2 separate regions of the Homo sapiens genome follow, and region 2 is linked to region 1. Evidence: promoter capture Hi-C in human tissues and cell types (Jung and others, 2019). All regions are on one chromosome and are shown on one strand. The core of a region is centred on a gene start or on the middle of the fragment in contact, and the rest is flanking DNA. Distances in the headings are between cores, read along the strand shown.

Region 1 (4,089 bases), core at 686-3,185:
CACCTGTAATCCCAGCATTTTGGGAGGCTGAGGTGGGAAGATCACTTGTGGCCAGGAATTCAAGACCAGCCTGGGCAACATAATGAGACCCCCATCTCTCTAAAAAAAAAAAAAGAAAGAAAGAAAAAAAGAAAGAAAGAAAAAAGAAAGAAAAGAAAAGCAGGGCTCCTAAAGTGGGAAGATTTCCAAGCATTAGACCATGTGTCAGAAATAGACAAAAAATATACAGAAAATGTCCACTTTGTACTCTGGCCCCGGGCTCTCATCATCTTCCCAGTCCCACCTCCTCCCACCTGATGGAGCCAAGCCCCGGGCCCTGTGTTAAGGCTTGGCCTGAGATGTTCTGCATGGGGGCCTGAGCCATGAGAGAAGTGCAAGGAATTCAGATGGGCACTTCTTGACAGTGAGCAACAAGGGGATGCTGTCTGAGCTTGGGAACCCCAGAGGGGGTTAAGGGAAGAGTACCAGGGTGATGATTAGCTAGAGTCATAAAATGGGGAGATCTAGCATGGCCTTGGGGAACATCTAGTGGGCGTCACACATCCAAATGCCTGCAGAGGGGCCAGGCAGGTCAGACAATAGGGGATGATGGGGCCTGTGGGGATGCGCCTTTAGGCATTACATTCAAAGACTTAAGTCTACTGTGCAGAGGTGGTAAGAATGATACAAGTGGTTGTTGTTGGGGGGCTGATTGACTATAAAGGGGCATGAAGAAACTTTCTGCAGGTGATGGAAATGTTCTGTCTGTTGCTTTGGGTGGGGTTACATCTTATATACCTTCATCAAAGAAATAACTTAGATGTGTGCATTTTACCATGAAGTATACCTCAATTTAAAAACTTGGGGCAAATTCATAAAGCAATGTGGATCTGGCTCTCGGGCTAACCATTTGTAAACTTCTGTTGCAATCCGACTTCCAGAGGCGTCCTTGGCTCCTCATCTTGGAAAAGCGCGACTGCGGCGTGGTCTGGCGGGCGGCCGCTCACTGCGCGGTCTCCACGCCTGGCAGGTGGCGCGGGGCAGGCAGCTGTGCCAGCCTAGCATTTCCACCTGCCGGGAGGAGGCGGTCCCCTGGGGCCCGGCCGGCATCTCCCTGGCCTGAAAATGAGCCGGTCACCCCAAACGCCAACTCCGAAAGGAGCGGAAGCGGATGGAACAGCTGGTCCCAGGGAGCGCGGGCCAGGCGCGCAGATAAATCACGGACACACACTGCACGGATAGCTCCAGACTGGCGTTGAGTGCCAAATGCCGACACAGACACGGTCAGGTTCCAGGAAGAGAAATCCGATCCGATGCGCGCTAGGCGGCGGCGGCGGAGCACAGTGAAACCCACCTGAGGGGGAAGGGTTGGGGGGAACCCAATCTTGATGGAGCCCCTCCCCATGCGGGCACTTTGGGCACTTCCTGAAGTCCTACCTGGCCACCCGCCTGCCCGGGGCATCAGGCATCGCCACTTCACTGGGGAGAAAAGCCAGACCGCCGCAGTTCACGGAGCGGTAGGAATTGCGGTGGAATTCCAGGCCGGAGTGTGTGACCCTACGCCCTAGCTCCGTCCTCTCCTCCACCCCGAGGCGAGCAGGTGTCTGCAGGAGTGCCTCCAACCCCATTGCAAAGCGGACGTGGCCCTCGTCTCGATGTCGGCGCTGCTCGCCGAGAGGGACCCCGGGGTGGTGTTGGGCGCGCGGGGCGGGGACGGGGACGCGCTGCGGCCAAGTCCCCGGGCCCTGCGACCCGCAGGGACCTTCTGGACGCACGGAGCCCGGCCCTCCAGCCGGCGCCCGCCCTGATTGGCGCCCGAGGCCGGCCTCCCGCCGGCTCACCTGCCACTCCCAGCCAATCGGGGCCACCAGAATTGGGGCTGTCGCCGGGGGGGTGGGTGGCTAGGGCGGGAGGGGAGGAGATGCTGCCGGCCCGAGGCTGAGCCACCCTCCCCGCGGAGTTCCCGCCCGGCCCTCTGCAATCCGGAGCCCAAGCCGCCGGCTACGCGCCCTGCGCCCCCTTGGTGCCGCGTCCAGTGCCCAGCGCGCTTTGATGCTGCAGCTCCGGGCCGGGCCGCTCTGCTTCTCTGCTCGCTGGGACGCTCTCCGACGGCTCCGCCCTCGCCTCTCGCCCCGAGTCCCTGCTGACCCCGGGGAGGTGGGGTCCGGGCCGGGCACAGCCCCGCTGAGGCAGGATGTTCACGTCCAAGTCCAACTCGGTGTCGCCCTCGCCGTCCCTGGAGCAGGCTGACTCGGACGCCCTGGATATCAGCACCAAAGTGCAGCTCTACGGCGTGCTGTGGAAGAGGCCTTTCGGCAGGCCGTCGGCCAAGTGGTCCCGGCGGTGAGTGCGCCCCCGCGCCCCAAGGAGACCGCCGGGGAGAGAGCCTGGGCGTCGTTACCCCTCCCACCCCCTCCAGTCGCCGTCGTGCCTCTGCTTTCCTGTGTGACCTTGGCGTCACCCCTTTTCACTCTACACTGGCTCCCGCAGGAAAATGTGGACCATAGTCTGGGCCGGGAGAATGGAGATGGGGCCCCTGCCCTGGGGCGGTGGCAAATTCTCTATGGAATGAACCTGACCCTCGAGTGGGAATGTTGGGTGTGGGCAGAAGAGACCGTGGTCGGGGTGGGATCCCAGCTAGGTCAGATCAGGCCAGACTGAGGGGAGGCAGAAACTCCATCTCTAGCCAAAGATGCCCCCAACCCCGGGACCCCCACTGTCAATTCCATCGTCTTCACAACCCCTGACCCAGGCCGCGAGGACCGGGCCTGAGTGTCTCCCTCCCGCCAACCACCCACCCTTAAGACGGAGAGGGACCTGGCCCTTCTGAAAGGCTCAGGCTAAGGAGGGAGGAAGGGCCAGGAAGGGTGCTTGTCCATGGGGAAGTGACCTTGGCAACCCCTCCAACTGTCCCTTGAAATAATTTTTTTAAAAGTGAGCACAGGGAAGAGAGATTCTAGTGCTTCAGACGGAGGAGCTGGAAAGGAGGGAGGCAGCTGGAGTGAAGGAGGGGATAGATTGGTTCTGCCAAGGATTGATCCTCTGAAAGGGGTGGTGGAGAGAGACAGGGTAGTCCCAACCATCCTTCAGCCCCAGCTGCCTGGTCCCCAACTCAGACGCGACTCCGCGGACATCGGTAGCCACTCTCCACTTACAAATTAGCCTGGGAGGTATTGAGGGAAGAGGGAGTTCACAGCCCTGGACTTGCAGGAAGCTCCCAACTGGCTGCAGGTGCTGTGGGCCATTTTCTGGACAGTTTCCACTCTCCAGTCAATTTCAGTTCTGAGATTCACTACTGGTATGGCCTGGAGAATGCAGACCCTGTCCAGCCCTTCCGCGGAGGTGTGACCCTTCCAGGAAACCAGGGGTATCCAGATGCCCCTTCCCCATCCCACACTCTATGAGTCTGCCCCTGAGCAGAGGGGGCCTCCAATGTTCCCAGGACCACAGATCATGTGGATGTGGTAGTGGTGGGTGCTGATGTTCTGTTCTGATGAATAATTTAATGTTTCTATAAGACCGCAGAACAAATGGAGCTGTGGACAGTAGCTCACATTTTATATCTCTGGTTTCATGTTGTTTTGTTGCTTCTGACAGGTTTCTCTCTGGGATTTAATGGGATACAGGCTTCTTGAGTTCCTCCAAAGTTCAGCTTATCTCTGACCCCCTAAATGAAGGCTTGGAGCAACATGGAGTGTATTTGGGGAGCTTCCAGTATTGTGCTATGTGAGCTACAGCCCCCAGGGCCAGGAGAGCTGGGGTGGAAAGGCTGTGTGTAGATTCAAGCACAATTAGCAGAATATCTCCCCCCACCACCCATCTTTCTTCTGCCTCAGCAGCTCCAGATAGTTAATCTTTCTTTTCTATTGGGTCTGGCTGCTGTTCTGGGTCCTGTCAACCAAGACTTCTCTTGCCAGACATTTTCACCTGACAGCATCCCTAGAAAATGCTAGGTGCTTGTGACCCCCAGGGTATGTCCCCTGGTCCTCCCCTTCACCACTGCAGGTACATTGGGAAACTGGTCTCTGCACCTACAGTTGATTCCAGGGCTAGGAAGTGTCAGGAGTACAGGGCATAGGCCCCCAGCTAAAAGCACAATGGTAGTGCCAA
Region 2 (4,089 bases), core at 501-3,000, 370 kb before region 1:
GCAGGTTCCAAGTGAGGAAGAAATCACTTAGTTACCTAGCAGGATATACTCCTATGGGACCTGTTAGAGTAATACAAAGAAAGCACTTCTCAGTCTATGACCTCCATATGCAGTATTTCACAGGTCTCTGAGCAGGTAAAGCACTCAGTCATCTCTGCCATCAGGCAGTTCAGACGAAGGAGAATTTCACTTACCAAGCCCACAGTGACTCGACCACAGCTGCTACTTCGTGCTACCTTACCTGCCTAACCCTAAAAACAAGCTTCTCTTATAGCCTGAACCTAAATAATGAGCACAGCCCAGAATGTAAAATGTTTAGAACATAGAAAAGTTAAAAGACCCAGATCCTGCCAGACAGAGCAGGCAGGATAGTAAATTTAGGTACACAGCTGTGATCATTACAATCTGCACTAAAGGCCACGGTGGGTATGGCAGTGGCACTAAGGCTGGTACTAGAGGAAGGGGCCTTTTGAAGACAGGTAGAATTACAGAAATCTCTCTGTAGGAAATGAGCTGAGAAGATGCATTTCCTGAAGAACTTCAGAGAAAGTCAACAAAGCAACTTCTTCATTTCACACATCAGAGAGTCAAAGGGCACATTCAGAGGAGGCACTCACACGACAATCCCCTTTAAACAGAGTTTATTTGCCATCATTTTAAGATCCTATACACAGGTAATTTGAGATTCGGTGGTTCTTTCAACAAAATAACAAGCCTGAAACTAGGATGCAGGAAAGTGCATAACGCCCCCATTCTCTGTAAATAATCAAGAATAGTTACATGTCAGCACCACAACTTCTGCTCCTTGGGGCACTAAACACCAAAGTACAAGGGTTTGTGGAGAGTCACAGGAGGGTGGAGAAGGACTGGCAAAGGTGCCTCACTCCTGAGTATTTAGGTGGAGGATAAGGCCTCCAAAGACCTCTTATGCCCCCATGTGAGTGTTTCACATTTCCTTTCCCTTGACATCACTTGCACATAGATACTGAGGTAATAAATTGGATCTTCAATGAATCTGACATCAAACTGTTCAACACAGTCCAACAGTCATTTGCACAGTGAGCCTACCTCCATGGGGGGATTCCCGAATGTCCCAAATGAGAACCCGGCCATCATCTGAGGAACTGGCAAAAATGTTGTCATTCACTGGGCTCACAGACAAGCCATATACTGCATCTTCATGAGCAAACACGTCCAATGTCTCACTGCTGGGAGATAAGAGAGCAAGACAGAGGCACACACATACACACAAGCATAGTGCAGAGTCCCAGCACTTTGGTACCGAGGGTGCCATCTTTTCCATTTCTAGAAGAAAGTCAACCTAGCTAAACCCAAAAAATATTATATTTCCTGAAAGGTAGGTAGTCAACTTTCAGGTTAAAAAAAAGGTACTATTAAGGAGTCTTTTTAGAGATTTTATAATTTTTGTGCTAAATAAGCATATTTAAAAGTGACTCAATAGCTGAGTTTTGTATTTTCATTTATTACAGAATGCATCTGCTTGTGTACAGATTTGGGGGTCATACTTGATTTTCAAAAAGCAAGGGAAAGCTTTAAAGCAGCCAAGTCTGATGCCTACAGGATGGGAGAGGGGTCTCCTAGCAATCTGGCATGGTGATGAAGAGCATGGCTCTGAGGCCAGATAGCCTAAGTTCAGGTTTTAGTACCACCTGACCTTCTGTTATCTAACATGTCTGTGACTCCGTTTCCTGATCTAGAACGGAGATGACAATAGTATCTCCTCAGAAAATGAGTGTGAGGATTAAATGAATGAATATGTACAAAGCATTTACAATGGTGTCTGGCACATAGTAAGAACTCAATCAATATTAGCTATTACTGTTCTTAAATATTATGGTTCCTTCTCTTCTAAACTCTTGTTTTAAATTTTCACCTAAAAAGTACACTCTCATACCAACTTTCAAAACTTTCAAATCCCTTTTTCCTTTTTAAATCAAAACTTTATTTATTTCAAACTATTGTAGGAATTTTTTTAGAAAAGAACAGCTGGTTTCATGTTGTTTTTTTCAAAAAACAAAAACTATTTTAGTCTAAAGAGATATTTGCCTCTTCATATATGAAAAACAAAGTCAATCACCTTCACACACCACCAATCTATTTACCTTTCAACATCATGGAGGATAACTTGCTCATCATTGCCTGCAAAAGAAAAAAGCAGACATCTGATCATTCGTGCAAGGTGGTCCCTGTCCACATTACAATTTAGTATTTTTAAGTTTTCAGGGAAAAAATATGAACAAAGCCAATGCTAATACAAATTAGAAGTGTTAACTGGAAAAAAGATTTATAGAAATAATTTAAGAAGGATAGGACATTCTTACAGAGAATTTTTAAAAAATAATGGCATCCAAGTATAACACAGTAACAGTTCCCAATGTGTATTATCCAGTGGATGATGTAAAAAAAAAAAACAACTGTGGCTACAACCTGGGCAACATAGTTAGACTCCATCTCTATGAAAATAAAAATAAAAAAATTAGCCAACTGGTGGCACACCCTTGAAGTCCCAGCTACTAAGGAGGCTGAGGTGGAAGAATCGCTTGAGGTCAGGAGTTCAAGGCTGCAGTGAGCTACGATCGCACTCCAGCCTGGGCAACAGAGAGAGACTGTCTCAAAAAAAAAAAAAAAGTAGGGGGGAAACAACACAAAACAAAACTGTGGCCATCAAGAAAAACACTAAATGATCATTGACAAATCAATTCACTAGCTTTATTTTTTTTCTTTTTCAGCAGAACACTCACTAATCATGAGACCTGCAATAAAATCTTTAGCATTTCTATGACCTAACTTTTTAACCTACAGAATAGGGATAATAACATCATAGAGTAACTGTAAGCATAAGAGTACATCTGTAAAAGCATTCAGAATAGGGCTGATCACTTAATAAGCCCCCAATAAATGTTTGTTAATATTTCTATCCTCATGGTCTTTTAAAAATGTTTCTTTCTTTCTTTCTTTTGAGACAGGATCTTGCTCTGTTTGTCTTTTAAAAATTTTTCTTCTTTCTTTCGAGACAGGATCCTGCTCTGTTGTCCAGGCTGGAGTGCAGTGGTGCAATCATGGTTCACTACAGTCTTGACCTCCTGTGCTCAAGCAATCTTCCCACCTCTGCCTCTCTAGTAGCTGGAACTACAGGCATGTGTCACTATGCCTGGCTAATTAAAAAAAAAATTTTTTTTGTAGAGATCTAACATGTTGGGGTCTAACTATGTTGCCCAGGCTGGTCTCAAACTCCTGGGCTCAAGCAATCCTCCTGCCTTGGCCTCTCAAAGTGTTGGGATTATTACAAGTGTGAGCCACCATGCCCAGCCTCATCATCTTTTATAGCATGAAAATTTGATGACTGTGATTCCAAATGATGTGAAAGTTTTAATCTTGTATTTCTCCTTATTCTATCAAAGGATATAAATTATATTCATGATATGTGTAGTCCTGCCTTCAAATGGTTTGTATAGCAAAAAAATTAAAACCTGAATATAAGAAGACAAAACATGAAAAAAGTCCCACTCTATGCTAAAATGCACAACCAACAGTCACTTAAATAGAAAGCAAAAGTAGCAGTAAAGATATGGCCCAGGGCATCTTAAACAAAGGCCTGGCTGTAAATTCTACTGTAGGTACAAACCAATGAAATCAGTAAACCCATACTAATGCCTTCTAGGTATCAGGTACAGTGCTAGGTCTTGGGTATATAAAAAGAATAAGATTCTACTCTGTCCTTGAGAACTCCAATTGGACTTGAGAACAGTCCAACTGGACAAACAACTAACAGCAACAAGAGGGTTTGCCTTGCAGCAATATGATCTAGCTATGGGGTCAATTATTTCCTTCATAAGCAGGGTGAAAGTACATGGAGAAGGAGACCTTTGAAGAGAAACTCAAATAACTCAAAACTCTTACCAATGAAAGGCTTAGGGGAATTGGTGGGGACTGGACAATTAAGGTGGAAGAACACCATGAACAAAAGGCACAAGGGCAAAATAGTACCATGCAGTGCATTCTTAAAATGACAAATAGTTTGGTGGGCTACAGTGTATAACTCAGGGAAGGGAGGTCAGGCCAGACAGA

The links. Contacts are between HindIII fragments. The study calls those that stand out against the background at their distance.
Region 2: a fragment that was not itself captured here is called in contact with the fragment with the promoter of PLEKHD1 in region 1 in 1 of the 25 tissues and cell types used here (lymphoblastoid cells).

Annotation. Positions count from the first base shown.
Region 1 is chr14:69,482,793-69,486,881 of GRCh38, forward strand. It overlaps PLEKHD1 (pleckstrin homology and coiled-coil domain containing D1), which reads left to right and starts at 1,936. Exons shown (of 13, transcript NM_001161498.2): 1 at 1,936-2,322. The coding sequence starts at 2,174. The HindIII fragment of the contact is 9,868 bases long and covers 1-4,089 here.
Region 2 is chr14:69,117,071-69,121,159 of GRCh38, forward strand. It overlaps DCAF5 (DDB1 and CUL4 associated factor 5), which reads right to left. Exons shown (of 9, transcript NM_003861.3): 3 at 2,124-2,160; 4 at 1,069-1,208. Among named protein-coding and RNA genes, the nearest start is that of DCAF5, 34 kb to the right of the region's middle. The HindIII fragment of the contact is 7,416 bases long and covers 1-4,089 here.